Regions from separate parts of the Homo sapiens genome. Here region 2 is linked to region 1. The links are contacts of gene promoters, found by promoter capture Hi-C in blood cells and fetal thymus (Javierre and others, 2016). All regions are on one chromosome and are shown on one strand. Each heading gives the region's core, a stretch centred on a gene start or on the middle of the fragment in contact. The rest is flanking DNA. Distances are from core to core; before and after follow the strand shown. Region 1 holds the start of SUDS3 (SIN3A corepressor complex component SDS3). Region 2 holds the start of SART3 (spliceosome associated factor 3, U4/U6 recycling protein).

What was found. Contacts are between HindIII fragments. The CHiCAGO score rates a contact against its expected background, and 5 or more counts as called.
Region 2: a fragment that was not itself captured here is called in contact with the fragment with the promoter of SUDS3 in region 1 in 3 of 17 cell types (naive CD4 T cells, fetal thymus and non-activated CD4 T cells); the score reaches 12.5 in naive CD4 T cells.

The regions. Positions count from the first base shown.
Region 1 is chr12:118,372,314-118,378,838 of GRCh38, reverse strand. SUDS3 (SIN3A corepressor complex component SDS3) reads right to left here and starts at 2,284. Exons shown (of 12, transcript NM_022491.3): 1 at 2,006-2,284. The coding sequence starts at 2,147. LOC124903031 (a long non-coding RNA gene) reads left to right here and starts at 2,712. Exons shown (of 2, transcript XR_007063480.1): 1 at 2,712-2,883; 2 at 3,048-3,541. It overlaps TAOK3 (TAO kinase 3), which reads left to right and starts at 5,932. Exons shown (of 21, transcript NM_016281.4): 1 at 5,932-6,191. RefSeq lists silencers at 1,888-2,037, 2,068-2,287, 5,809-6,058 and enhancers at 1,729-2,229, 5,439-5,488. The HindIII fragment of the contact is 4,103 bases long and covers 1-3,124 here.
Region 2 is chr12:108,559,107-108,565,631 of GRCh38, reverse strand. It overlaps SART3 (spliceosome associated factor 3, U4/U6 recycling protein), which reads left to right and starts at 4,459. Exons shown (of 19, transcript NM_014706.4): 1 at 4,459-4,789. The coding sequence starts at 4,478. ISCU (iron-sulfur cluster assembly enzyme) reads right to left here and starts at 3,036. Exons shown (of 5, transcript NM_213595.4): 1 at 2,896-3,036; 2 at 1,240-1,353; 3 at 201-311. The coding sequence starts at 3,009. RefSeq lists silencers at 1,807-1,856, 2,817-2,936 and enhancers at 2,547-2,616, 3,147-3,226, 3,297-3,356, 4,211-4,310, 4,321-4,380. The HindIII fragment of the contact is 633 bases long and covers 3,115-3,747 here.

The sequences.
Region 1 (6,525 bases), core at 1,035-3,534:
CTGGGGGTGGCGGCACATGCCTGTAATCCCAGCTACTCAGGAGGCTGAGGCAGGAGAATTGCTTGAACTCGGGAGGCAGAGGTTGTGGTGAGCCGAGATCGCGCCATTGCACTCCACCCTGGGCAACAAGAGTGAAACTCCATCTCAAAAAAAAATAAAATAAACAAAACAACAAATAAAACCACAAAAATTAGCCAGGCATGGTGGCAGGTGCCAGTAATCCCAACTACTCCGGAGACTGAGGCAGGAGAACTGCTTGAACCCAGGAGATGGAAGTTGCAGTGAGCTGAGATCGTGACACTGCACACCAGCCTGGGTGAGTGAGTGAGACCCCATCTTAAAAAAAAAAAAAAAAAGATTACTTACAATATCCAATAAAATGTAAATACTATGTAAGTAGTTGTTACGCTACACTGTTTAGGAATAACAAAAAAAAAGTCTGCACATGTTCAGTACAGATCCAATTTTTTTCCTGAATATTTTTGAGCTGCGCTTGGTTGAATTCACAGATGCAGAACCCACAGATACGCAGAGCCAACTGTATACAATAAAAAAGGGGAATCTGACACAAATAAATATTTTCCAAGTTACAACTAAAGGGAACAAGGAGGAGGCCAGATGATCAAACGAAAACTGTTTCAGAACATCTTAAACATTGTTCTTAGAACAAGCTAATGGCTGGGGTGTGTACAAAATTTTAATAGCCCCTATACTGGAAGGAAAAAAAAACTCAATTTTGGCTCCACAGCGCCCCCTCGTGGGTATGAGATGAAGTGCAAGTGCTTCACATTCAAAATCTCTGGTTAAGCCGTGTCTTCTGATGGAATTAAATCGAATGCAGTCCCTCAACTTTGTATGTCATGCATATGCAGCTGTCTTTTGTAAGGCTGTTGCAGATCCAATTCCCCACAAACCCTTCTCCCCTCCTTCAGTCAAGAGGCCTTCCCTGAGTTCCTGTCATGGTCAGCCACATTACTTGGCACTCGGGAAACTCAGATGAATAAAACGTAGGCCCCATTCCAAACAGCTGGTCTAGCTTTTGCTCCACGGCCCGATTTTGTCCCAGAATATTCCGCTCATATATCGGTCTCTCTTTGTTTCCTATTTCTCCTCCCTTGATCTCTCACATTTCATCACCTTCCTCCTCCTCCATCCCTCCAAAATAGCGTTCCTCACACTTGCCAAATTATAAAGCCCAGTTTGAAAAGCAAGGCTCTGAGACTCTGTGATGACAGTGCAAAGAGCGTGGGACTGAAAACACAACACCTGGGGACCATTAAGCAAATCTCTCCCTCTCTTACCTGTTTCCGGGAGGGGGGCGGGTGGGGAGAACATTTACGGAGTATTTACAGTACCAGGCCAAGTACTTTATGCGCATGTCATTTAATCCCTATACCGACCCTAGGAAGTGCCTTCTAGGGCAGGTGTGGGAATTAAACAGCTCCATTACAGTTGGGTAAATCGAGGCTGGAAAACTTAAGTTTACAAAGCTGAGTTAAGTGACAAAGCCAAATTTAAACCTGTATCTGGCTGGTTCTAGGTCCCTTTCCTTTAACCAACCTGAGTTCTCAATAGTGTACTACCTAAAGTATAGATGACTTATGCATTTCGGGGGTGGGGAGGGGCAACTTTGGACTCTGATGCTCTCACACACAAAAAAGGGGCGAACTACACTCGATGTATTCAGTAAATGAGTTTCTAATTCCTACTAGTGAGTGAGGTTCAATCAGAAACGGCTGGGAGGGAGGACGGGGTCTTAAAGGGACCCCCAGCGTGACAACATCTAAGTCCCCTCTCCCCATCACGGTCGAGTGTAACGCACCCAGGGCTTCCCCGCTACTCCAGCACGGATGGGGGTAACTTCCCCGAGCCCCGCAACTCCCGGCGGCCCCTCCACGCAGCCCCAGGCCCCGGAGGCCGCCCCGCCCCTCTCCCGAACAGCCCCACCCCCTCCCCCAGCGGTCCCACCTCCGCTCCGGGCGGCCGGGCGAGCGGCAGGACTCACCTTCGTCCGACTCGCGGCCCCGACAGCTGCGCTCGTCGTCCTCGGCGCTCTCCAGCTCTTCATCCTCCTCGGGGTAGTACTCGGGGGCCGGCGGCGCTCCAGCCTGGGCCGGGGCCGGGGCCAGCAGCCCCGCGGCACTCATGTCGCCTCTGACCGCAGCTGAGCGTGGCCCACGGACACCGCGGCCACCCGCGCTCGGTACTCGCCGTCTGCCTAGCAGTGTCCGCGGCAGCCCCCAACTCGAGGACCGGCAGCCACGGCGACCCCTTCCCCGTCTCCGCCGAGCTCCGCCCCCCGCGCCCGCGCTCGGCAACGGGGGCCTCGCGCCGCGAGCGACTTCCGGGTCGAGAGCTGCCCGACAACGGCCTGATTCCGCCATCCTTGGGGGAGTGGAGATGCCGCTGGACGCCCCCGTCGCCACAACCTCAGCCCTTTCATCGCCGTCTTAAAATCCTCAACGTATAGTGGGGGAGGGGCGGAGCCAGGTTCGCTAGAGTCAGGCAAATCTACGGGCAGGCCCAGCAGCGGTCAGGACCCCGAGGCTCGCAGGCGACTTCCGGAGACAGCCGCCAGGCGGCGCCTGGAGCTAGAACTAAAGCGGTGATCGTTAGCGACCTAGGGGCGGAGGGTTTGAAGGGCCCTTGGCAGGTGGAGGTGGTCTCTAATTTAAGCAGGGAACGACGCGACCTGCCCCCTTATTAGGTCGGAAAACCTAGACGTCCAGAGTGTGCGTGATCATGCAGCCTGGCTCCTCCTGTGACTAGTTAGAGCTTTATTAAGAGCTAAAAGACAAGGATGCTGATATTCCATCCTGGGGACAGCAAAATAGTATTTTCCCAGCCCTTAGGAATCCTTTCTGTTTGTGTAAGGTTTATTCGGTAAGATGTTCCCCCGGTTTTACAAATGAGAAACGAGCTGTCGTTTGCCTAAAAAAAAATAGTAACGTCCAGTCTGATTTTTTAGACTCCGAGACCCAGGCCCTCCGCGGTACAGCTGCCTTGAATATTAATTTTTTAAAAGGTGCTTTTGCTTAATCCAACAGCTTGCTCTGAGCTCTCAACTGAAGAAGGGGAGAATTTGCCTACCAGAAGTTATTTGGCTAAGGCCCACGTGGAAGCTTAAAAAACAGGAGAGCTGAGTATCTGCAAGAATTAATTTGTGCGATTCCCTCTGAGTAGAAAAGGAACACGGTGTTATAAGTTTTGCTGAACGAATAGATTTAAGGTGTCCCTTTAGCTAAGAGCAATGTGGTCTAGTTGTGTGTAGCGAGAAAAAAGGGTAAGGTTTTTAATGGTTTGTCCAAAGTAGCCCCACTTTTATGTTCCACCCGAGTCTCCGTAGGAAACGCAACCAGTAGTGAAAATGAACAGATGTGAAAACCAGGGTGGAACCGAATATTCCCATTCTCAGACCTTTTGTGATTAAATTTATCTCTGAATTGTTCCCTATGGACTCTTCTGAAAATGAAACGTTATTCTCATCCCACTTATTTTGACATTTATTTACTACCTTGTTTTAATTAAAATCTTGGCTCTATTTGTAAGTGATTTTTTCTCCCAACAAAACTAAAGAATTTCCAGAATGGAATGCTAAGATGTCTTTCCAGGAGTTCTGAGATCTTCTGAAGCCCCTTCTAAATAAGAATCATTCTCAGATCGCACCGTAGGTCTGCCATCTATATTTAAACTAGGATTCCAGAACTGTCTCTTGTCCAAAAGATGAAGTCATTTTCTTTCTTTGTGCTGTTGGAGAACATCTAAATTACTTGCAATCAACTATATTGAGTAACTTGCGTTCCTGTCAGTAGCAGTAATCATAGTGCAGAAAAAGCAAAGATTTTAGAAATCAAGAGTTCATTGATACAATTAATTTTTAAGTTTATTTCGTTGCTAAATGGTTTCCTTTCAAGACGCTGAGATTTTTATCCTGCTTATGTTTTACTGCTGTCTTCTTGACTGCAAACAGCATCTGTTAATGGTCATGCATTTCTTTTTTATATGTAATGAATAGACACAACTGAGCACTTGGGTTATGAAAACTTACCCCATTTTTTTCTGTCCAGATTGCCAGCTGCAGAACTAAAAAATGCTCTTTAGTGAAGGTGGACCTACTCAAAAAAATTCTCTTATGGCTTTAGTCTTACCTAACCTTTAGATTTATTTAATATGATTTTGGACAGTCGCTATACTCCTGTAAAAATCAAGTTCCCTCAAAACCAAGTTTTACCACCTTGAAATCTTTTTATATATCCCTTCTCAAAACGGTACTCAGCCACACCGCTCAGGAACTCGACTTGACTTGAAACGAAGCCCTGCCAGCCCCATTTCCACAACTTCTTTGCTTCCAGGCCTTCTCTGCCTACCCTAACACCCAAACTGAAACTTTAAAGGGGGACATCACAATTGGAATGGAGTATGATTCTTTTTTTTCTTTTTCTTTTTTTCTTTTTTTGAGACGGAGTTTTGCTCTTTCACCCAGGCTGGAGTGAAGTGATGCGATCTCGACTCACTGCAACCTCCGCCTCCGGGTTCAAGTGATTCTCCTGCCTCAGCCTTTCTAGTAGCTGGGATTACAGGTGGGTGCCACCATGCCCGGCTAATTTTTGTATTTTTCGTACAGACGGGATTTCACCATGTTGGCCAGGCAGGTCTGGAACCCTTGACCTCAGGTGATGAATGGCGTATGATTCTTAAAACACTAGAAGAAACATGTATACTGTTTAGAACACAAACACATTTTGTCAGCTGGAGTTAAAAAGTTAACAATCGAGGGTTCTCTGAGAACTAAGGCCTGTATACATCTGACAAAACTTAGGATCAAAATGTGTTCCTGAGACAATTTCTTCATAAAATGCTAAATTCTAAAGTCCATAAACTTACTTTTGGCGTTAAGAGTAAGGAAAGCAGTTTTCTGTTTCCGGTGTTGATTTGATCAGCATATCCAGTTTCACAAAAATAACACAAATGGGTCTTAGTAGCATGATGCACTTTCACCCCTGGCAGGCACTATCCTTTAGCGTGGATCAAGAGGAGTCTCTGATTATCACATGTTAAACCTGGGTCAAAGCTCGTTATCCTTTGGCCACACGTTCACATAGAATCATTAAAACCTGTGGCCCTGGAAAAAGGTTATATTGAATAGCTTTGCTGAAACCTTGTTAAGCTAATAATAGGGTTCCCCTACCACAGTCTTCCTACTGTCATAAAAACCTACAAACTGAAAATTTCTAAAGCTTTGTCCTTGCACCTATCAAAATGTGCCCCGCATTGAACGCTTAGTTGGGCAAAGTATGCACCTAGTACTGTATATAGATTTTTTTTCCCCCAACGGTATCAAACTGACGGCTGCTGAACTCAATTCAAGGAGAGGCAACTCCCTTGCAAGAGATTTTAAAAAGAAATGGTTTAAATCCAGGAAATTTTTACAAATCCTGGGCAAATTAATGCTATATTAGTTCATGGCAGAATTACTAAGAAAGCTGTGCAAGGTCTAGCGAGAGACTGGGGTCCTCCCCAAAGGCTCTAACATGGTGGTCCCTGGGAATCTCCCAAGAAAAGTAAAGGCGTGGGGAGAAGCGCCATGAACTTTGACCGGAGAGCAGCACAAACAAGACTGACCGCACCCCAGGCGGGCCCGTAGGTTACTAAAGTTGCAAGGTCTTCCGCGTCTGAGGAGACCCCGCCCTGCCCTGTCCCGCCCATCGACAACTCCGCCAATCCTCGGGTTCCATCGACCGCTCGGCTTCCCAGGCTCCATCAATCAAATACCTATATACGGCCCCGGCCCTGTGCCCCGCGATCAGGGAAGGTCAGTAGAGAGCCTATTGGAGCCGAGCTTGGGGCGTGGTCCGGGGCAGGGGGCGGGCGGACTGAGACGGTGGGGCGGGGCGTGCTCGGCGCAGTCCGGTGCGATTGGCCACCCCTGGCAGGAGCCGCACCTCGGACAGCAGCAGCGGCGGCGGCCGCGGGAGGGTCCTTGTGGCGCCGGGCGGCGGGGTCCTGCGTGGAGAGTGGGACGCAACGCCGAGACCGCGAGCAGAGGCTGCGCACAGCCGGATCCGGCACTCAGCGACCGGACCCAAGGATCCGCCGGGGAACAAGCCACAGGAGAGCGACTCAGGAACAAGTGTGGGAGAGGAAGCGGCGGCGGCGGCGCCGGGCCCGGGGGTGGTGACAGCAGGTCTGAGGTGAGAGCACCGGGGCGCGGGGCATGACAGTGGGAGCCGAGGCGGCGGGACCCCAGGCAGAGTGAGGGGAGTTGCGGGAGCGGGCTCGACAGTGCAGACTGTGGAGAGGAGACCCCGGGAGGGACCGGGACAGCGGGTGAGGAGAGGGGACTCCGAGAGGGACCGAGGCAGTGGCTCTGAGTGGAGAGGACTCCGAGAGGGTCCAAGACTGAAAGTCTGAGGGGAGGGGTCTCCAAGAGGGGCCGGGACAGTGCGCGTGAGAGGAAGGGACCCGGAGAGGGGCTGGGGTAGTGGGGTGAGGGGTGGGTGCCTCATGAGGCACTAGGATAGGGGG
Region 2 (6,525 bases), core at 2,182-4,681, 9.8 Mb after region 1:
ACACCCAAACAAACAAAAAAATAAAAATGATCAACAAGAAAAAAACCCAAACAACACCTAGTAGAATGATCCATAATTCCCAATTTGAAGAAATGATAATATAATCAACATCTGCATAGGAGAAATTTTAAAAATTTAGAATATTAAAAAAAAGTCATGGTTACTTGTTTTTGACCCATTAGATTTGTGAGCCACCTTACCGTCTTTCCTTTCACCCATTCAGTGGCTAATGAGCTGGAGGCAATTGCGGAACCACAGCCAAATGTTTTAAACCTAGCATCCACAATCTTCCCCTTTTCATCCACTTGAATCTAGAAAAGAGACAAGAGTTAAGTGGTGAGTCCTGGGACCACCCTCTGGAACCTGGCACTCACGAAGGTTCACCAGGGCCTTCCCCAAGGGCTTTGGGCTTGCTTTCCACACTAAGTGATGGCATTAATTACTGACTTTGCCTTGTTTCAAAGAGCTCAGTGATGAAAAGTGAAATGCAGGGACAACTATCCAGGCCCAACTGACAAAGATCAGCTGAAAAATATGTCCCTCCACTCCAATATTCTTTTGTTTTGTGACTCTGGCCTGCATTTTGGCTATGAACTTCTATTTGTGGAAGTCTGCTCACAGCTGCTGGGGCAATCTGGCCTCTTTAAACACTGACAGAGTCCACAATAAAGGTCTCTGGTTAATACTTTTTTCTTGGGCAGCAGATTACACTTAGTGGTTTCCTCCTGTTTTGTTTCTGTATTCCAAGATAGGTATGAAGACCTCTGGCAAGCTGCCCACTCACCATGAAGCAGCAGATTGGTGCTACAACTACAGTTTACCCAAAGCACTAGACACTATTTTCATGTTTCCCCCAATCTGGGGACAGGTTTAATTTACTGTGTTTCTTGTTTCATTGGGGACTGCTAGCTCACTGGGATTTTCCTTTGATCAGTAAAATTCACAAAACTCTTTAGTTGGCTGAAGTCAGAATTTAAACTGATACAGTGAGTACAAAAATGAGATTACTTTTCTATTTTGGAAAAAGTTGGCATAGTACACTAGCCTAGCAGGAGAGCTACGATTGAGGCCCTGCTCCAGTCATATCTAACATGGACTCATCCCATCTCACAGGAATGGAGACCAAGTGAAATGCTTGGAGATCTCACAGGAATAAAGATGGAGACCAAGTGAAATGCGCAAGTGCTTTGTAAACTTAAAGGGATTATTGTTATCACTATTAAAAAAGACTAGCCATACCTGTAATTTCATTACGTCACCACATGCTGGAGCCCCCACCAGTCCAGTTCCAACATTTTTAGATGTCTTGTCAAGGGACCCCACGTTTCTAGGATTTTCATAATGATCAACAACCTAAAATGAGAGGGTTAAGATAAATCATGTTCACTCTCTATTGGTACTGGTCTCTGGTTTGATGGTAAGCTCCTCGGTCAGCATCTTGAACCTGGCAGGCAATCACTAAATACCAAATTTCACCTGAGTAGAAAGGTCTACACTCATGTCAATGAGAACCATTTGTGACCCCCAATTCCTTTTGTGTCTCCTCTACAATACTTCACAGATTTGAGATACCTAGAAGAAAAAAAAATCAGTGAAATCATGTCTTAGTTCCATAGGATTTTTACAAAAATACTTGACTTTCACCCACCTACATCACCAGACTTGGGCTCAAACAGCAGTTTTGTTATTTTCAAATAAAATCCATCCTCAAAGGATGATTACTATTTAAAAATTCTAAAAATAACCATGGCCCAGGGAGGGAAAGCTTTCTTAGAAGCCTTAAGGTGACTGTTACACAGGGAACAATGCTATGGAATGTGTACGTTTATGTGTCTTTTAAAATAAAAACAGTGCCATTACCGTATTTCACAGCCTGTCATCACCCTGGTGCAGCAGCGCACCCTGGCTGCTGAAAGGCTGCTAGTCCAAGTTTCTTCAGGGTGTACCCTCAACAAAACACACCCCCGGGAGGGGGAGGAGTGAAGAAGCCCTTGGAGAAAGGGCAGAAGCCAGATCACAATAAACATCCATTCGAACTGGCACACAGAAGGCCTTAATAACCTTGAGGTTTGGTTACTGGTTAGTAGTAAGCACGCCGATCTTCCAGTCCCCTTTTCCCCCCATCTGACTAAGGATTTTGACTCCAAGTAAAAGGGACCTCAGGATAGTATCTAATGTAGGGGCCTTTTGTGCCACGTTGATTTATGGCATTCTTTAGTTGTTTCTCGAGTGGGAGTCTCACGTCTGGGGGACTTTGTGCCACCAGACAGCAAGGGGCTGCAGACTATGAATCTATCCCTCCTTCCCCGCCAAAAAACCCCCCAAACAAAACAAAAACATTACGCATGTTGGTTACAAGCCTGACTCCCCTATGCACTCCTAAAGCAGTAACAGAAACGGTCTCCTCGTGCTGGGGCCTATGTGCCAGGAACCATGCCAGGACTCCACGCACAGTATCCTTTGTAAGGGACAGCTGAGAGCCCCCCATTTACACCTGGGGAAACAGGTTCAGAGAGGCGCAGTGACTAGCCCAAGGTCATCTGGCCAGGGCAGCGGAGTGGCTGAAGCCGGAGCCCGCTCCGGGGGTGTGTCTGTCCCTGGACTCAGAAAGACAAGTCCCAACAGGACCCTGCCTCCTGGGCTGTTGGCGAATTTAAAATTGGGACGCACGAAGTCGCGGCCAGCGGCGGGGCCCCCTGGAAGTCGCCGCCCGATGAGCGGTAACTGTTGTTTATCAGTTGCAGTGAGCCTCACTGCGCAGCAAGGGAAAGCGAGTCAGGGCAAAGACGTGGGAGGGGACAGCTCCCAGTCCTAGCTGCGCAGAACCCCGCGGCCGCCCCTCCAGCCCAGGCCTCCGCTGAGTCGGCATTCCGCGCGTCCCTCTTTTGTCCCTACCTTCTTGTGATAGAGTCGGGCCGGGGCCGACAGCTCCCGGGCGGGCAGGCGGGGGCTCCGCAGCAGCAGAGCCGATGCCGCCCGCCTCAGACGGAAAGCCCCAGCCGCCGCCATCTTGCCGGCTTGCGCCTGCGCCAGTCCAGAGCGACGCCGAGGGGCGGGGCGCGTCTGCGAGTCGGCTCCGAGCTGGGAGCGCGCCTCTCTGACGTCACCGAAGCTTTGCGCCTGCGCTTTACCGCTCCGTGCACGCGTCCGCCTTCTGGCCCCGCCTTGACCACGCCTCTCGGGGGCGGGCGGGGTCGGGAGCGGGAAGGTCTGAAGTCGCTGGAGGGCTTGTCCTGGGTGCTGGATTCTGGTTGAGACAGGACCTCAGGGCTTCTGCAGTGTGGGGCTCAAGTTCGCTTTCACAAATCCCGCTGCGGGAATGCGGCGCAGAGGAGCACCGAGTCCACTTTTCCTAACCCTATTTTGCAGCTAAGGAAGCCGAGATTCAGGGCAGTTTAGTAAGTCCGTCCAAGGTCGCTAAGGACTTATGTTCAATTAGAATTCGAACTTGGGTAATCCTGGGTTAGAATCCTGGTTCGGTTCCTTCCTGGCTGTGTGTCCCTAGACGAATGGTACCGGCTCGCTGAGTCTGAATCTTCCCTTTTGTATTAATTCGAGGACAATTGCTTCATCATGAAGCCAGCATCTGTGTCGAGTACCTACTATGTGTCAAGGCGCTCTACTAGACCCGGGGATCCAACGGAAAGCAAAACAGACATAATTCCTGCCCATTAAGCCTGCTAATGAGGGAGCAAGGTAGAGATAGAGACACACACCAATACTTTCCTACCTCAAAAATGGGAAGCTTAAGAAGGAAACGAATACCATGTCCTGATTGAAAAAAAATGAATATGTCTATTTTTCTCTCTAAAACAACAGCAAACTCAATTTATATGTCAGTGCCTAGCAATTAAGAATTTCTAAAGAAATGCGTATTAATGTAATTTACTGTTGGTTTGCAGTATGTGATCTTATAAAACCGGAAAACTCACGTGTATTTAACGTCTACTAGGTACCAGACGTTTACATAAAGGGGAGGAATCTGGGAAATGGATTTTTCTCTTGAATGGTGAAATCGATCCTTCCCCGAGGACCTGCAGTTTTCTTTGCGTTTGAGGCGCAGTTGCTGGGGAGAGTAAACCCAAGCGCCAGGTCACACTAGGCGATAAGTAAGGCATTTAATCGAAGAATCACTTTGACCTTCTCAAGATGGCGCCAAATTCTTCACTACAGACATCACTCTCGCTCCATGACTTCCTCTATGGCTTCCACTTCCTGCCCAAAGACCCAACTTCTGTCCGAAGTTGTGACGGAACGCATGCCATTATAATGAGTTTTTATATCTGGTGGGAGCTTTTACAGGGTATAAAATAATGTGAATTTAGTGTATGTGGAGATTTTCCTGTTATCTAAGTTCCCAGTTTCTCTTTCAATGGCAAGAAAACGGGTTTTTGATAAGGCGCGCGCCGCGGGCAGCTTCTGCCTCAGCGGGTCTTCGGCGGCCGCGGGAAGACCCGAGAGTCATTAGAAGCGCAAGATGGCGACTGCGGCCGAAACCTCGGCTTCAGAACCCGAGGCTGAGTCCAAGGCTGGGCCCAAGGCTGACGGAGAGGAGGATGAGGTTAAGGCGGCTAGGACAAGGAGGAAGGTGTTATCGCGGGCTGTGGCCGCTGCGACATACAAGACCATGGGGCCAGCGTGGGATCAGCAGGAGGAAGGCGTGAGCGAGAGCGATGGGGATGAGTACGCCATGGCTTCCTCCGCGGAGAGCTCCCCCGGGGAGTACGAGTGGGAATATGACGAAGAGGAGGAGAAAAACCAGCTGGAGATTGAGAGACTGGAGGAGCAGGTGGGCCCGGGGGTGGGCAGCGGGCATCTTCCAGTCTTTCAGGTCCTCGGGTCCCCATGTCCTGGCCCGCCTCCCTAGTCCTCGGCGGCGATAAAGCCGCCAAGGCTGCAAACCCGCTTTTCGTGACAGTAGCTCCTGTCGGATTTGAGTGCTTACTGCCTGCCCATTGCCTTGCAAACGTTATCTCATTGAATCCTCGCCACGACCCTGTGAAGGAAGCCCTGTTATCTATCCCCATTTTACTGGAGGAAACTGAGGCTCGTGGAGGAAAGTTTCTTGCTCAAGATAACACTTCCTGCAAGTCAGGCCTTGTACTTTGATCCCATTCCAGAACTCCCACTCTTAACCACACGTCCAACAGTAGAAATAAACTCATTCGCAAGAGAGTGTTATTTTGTTATGTAGGAATGACGGCGATGATGAAACTTGTGGTAAGAAAAATATTGACCGCGATGGTGATAATAGAAATGGAAAGGTTTCTGGTTCTGGAGGTTAAGGCCTCAGTTCTAGCTGTTCAACTCTTGTATGTGCTTGTAAGAATTTCTTAATTTCTCTCACCCTCTCGACTTCCTTATCTGCAGATTGGGAGCAACAATTTCTGCATAATATAATTGTTGTAACAGTAACTATAGCTCAGTGCCTAGCATCTAGTCATAACATGGTCTCTCACTTGTAACCTTATGAGGTGGTGATATCTACTGTATAATCCAGGATCTCAGCAGGAAATAGGTGGCACATTTAAATTAGGATGATCTGAGAGAAACTCAATAAAGGTGTGGGTAGGGAAATCGGGAGTGAAGGTTTAGTATCCCATAGCTGGTAACTCCAGAACCTGGTGTCCATCTTTGGGCCGGAAGGGGTGAAGGGTGTGATCTGAATTGTGTGGAGAGGGCACCTGAGACCTGCTGATAACTTTGTTCAAGGGAAGCAGCCCCAGTTTCCTGTCAAGGATTGAGGTGGGGGAAGAAATACCCTGACCTCTCTTTCTTCCTCCCACCAAACTTCTGCTGGTGCCTCCTGCTGGGCAGACCCATCTGGAAGCTGGAGAGCCAGGAAACCTGTGCATGAGGTCTATACTCGGGGACACAGGGCAGGGAGGAGAGGGTAGGGTGTTTTTTGGAGGGGGCAAACAGAAGAGATGGAGCACATTCTCTCTTTTTTTTTTTTTTTTTTTTTTTGAGACAGAGTCTCGCCCTGTCACCCAGACTGGAGTGCAATGGCACCATCTCGTGTCACTGCAACCTCTGCCGCCCTGGTTCAAGCGATTCTCCTGCCTCAGCCTCCCCAGTAGCTGGGATCCAGGCACGCACCATTGCGCCCGGCTGATTTCTGTATTTTTAGTAGAGACGGGGTTTCACCATGTTGGTCAGGCTGCTCTTGAATTCCTGACCTCAGGTGATCCACCCACCTTGGCCTCCCGTAGTGCTGAGATTACAGGTGTGAGCCGCTACGCCCGGCCCGCATTCTCTTTTTACAGATGAAGAAACAGAGGTTCAGAACAAATGATGAAATGATTTCCTTTAAGTTATTCATAGTGGGATTTACACTTAAAATGTGGACTAGATGCCACACTGGATGTGAAATCACTCAGTGAATGTGAAGTTGCTAATCTAGTTTACTCATTAAACCTTACTGAGTGTCAGTTTCCTTATAATACTCTCTCTGGCACTGATATTTTTGTTATGAGATAGTGATGTCATCCATTGGTATAGCTTGTCCCACCCATTACATCTGAT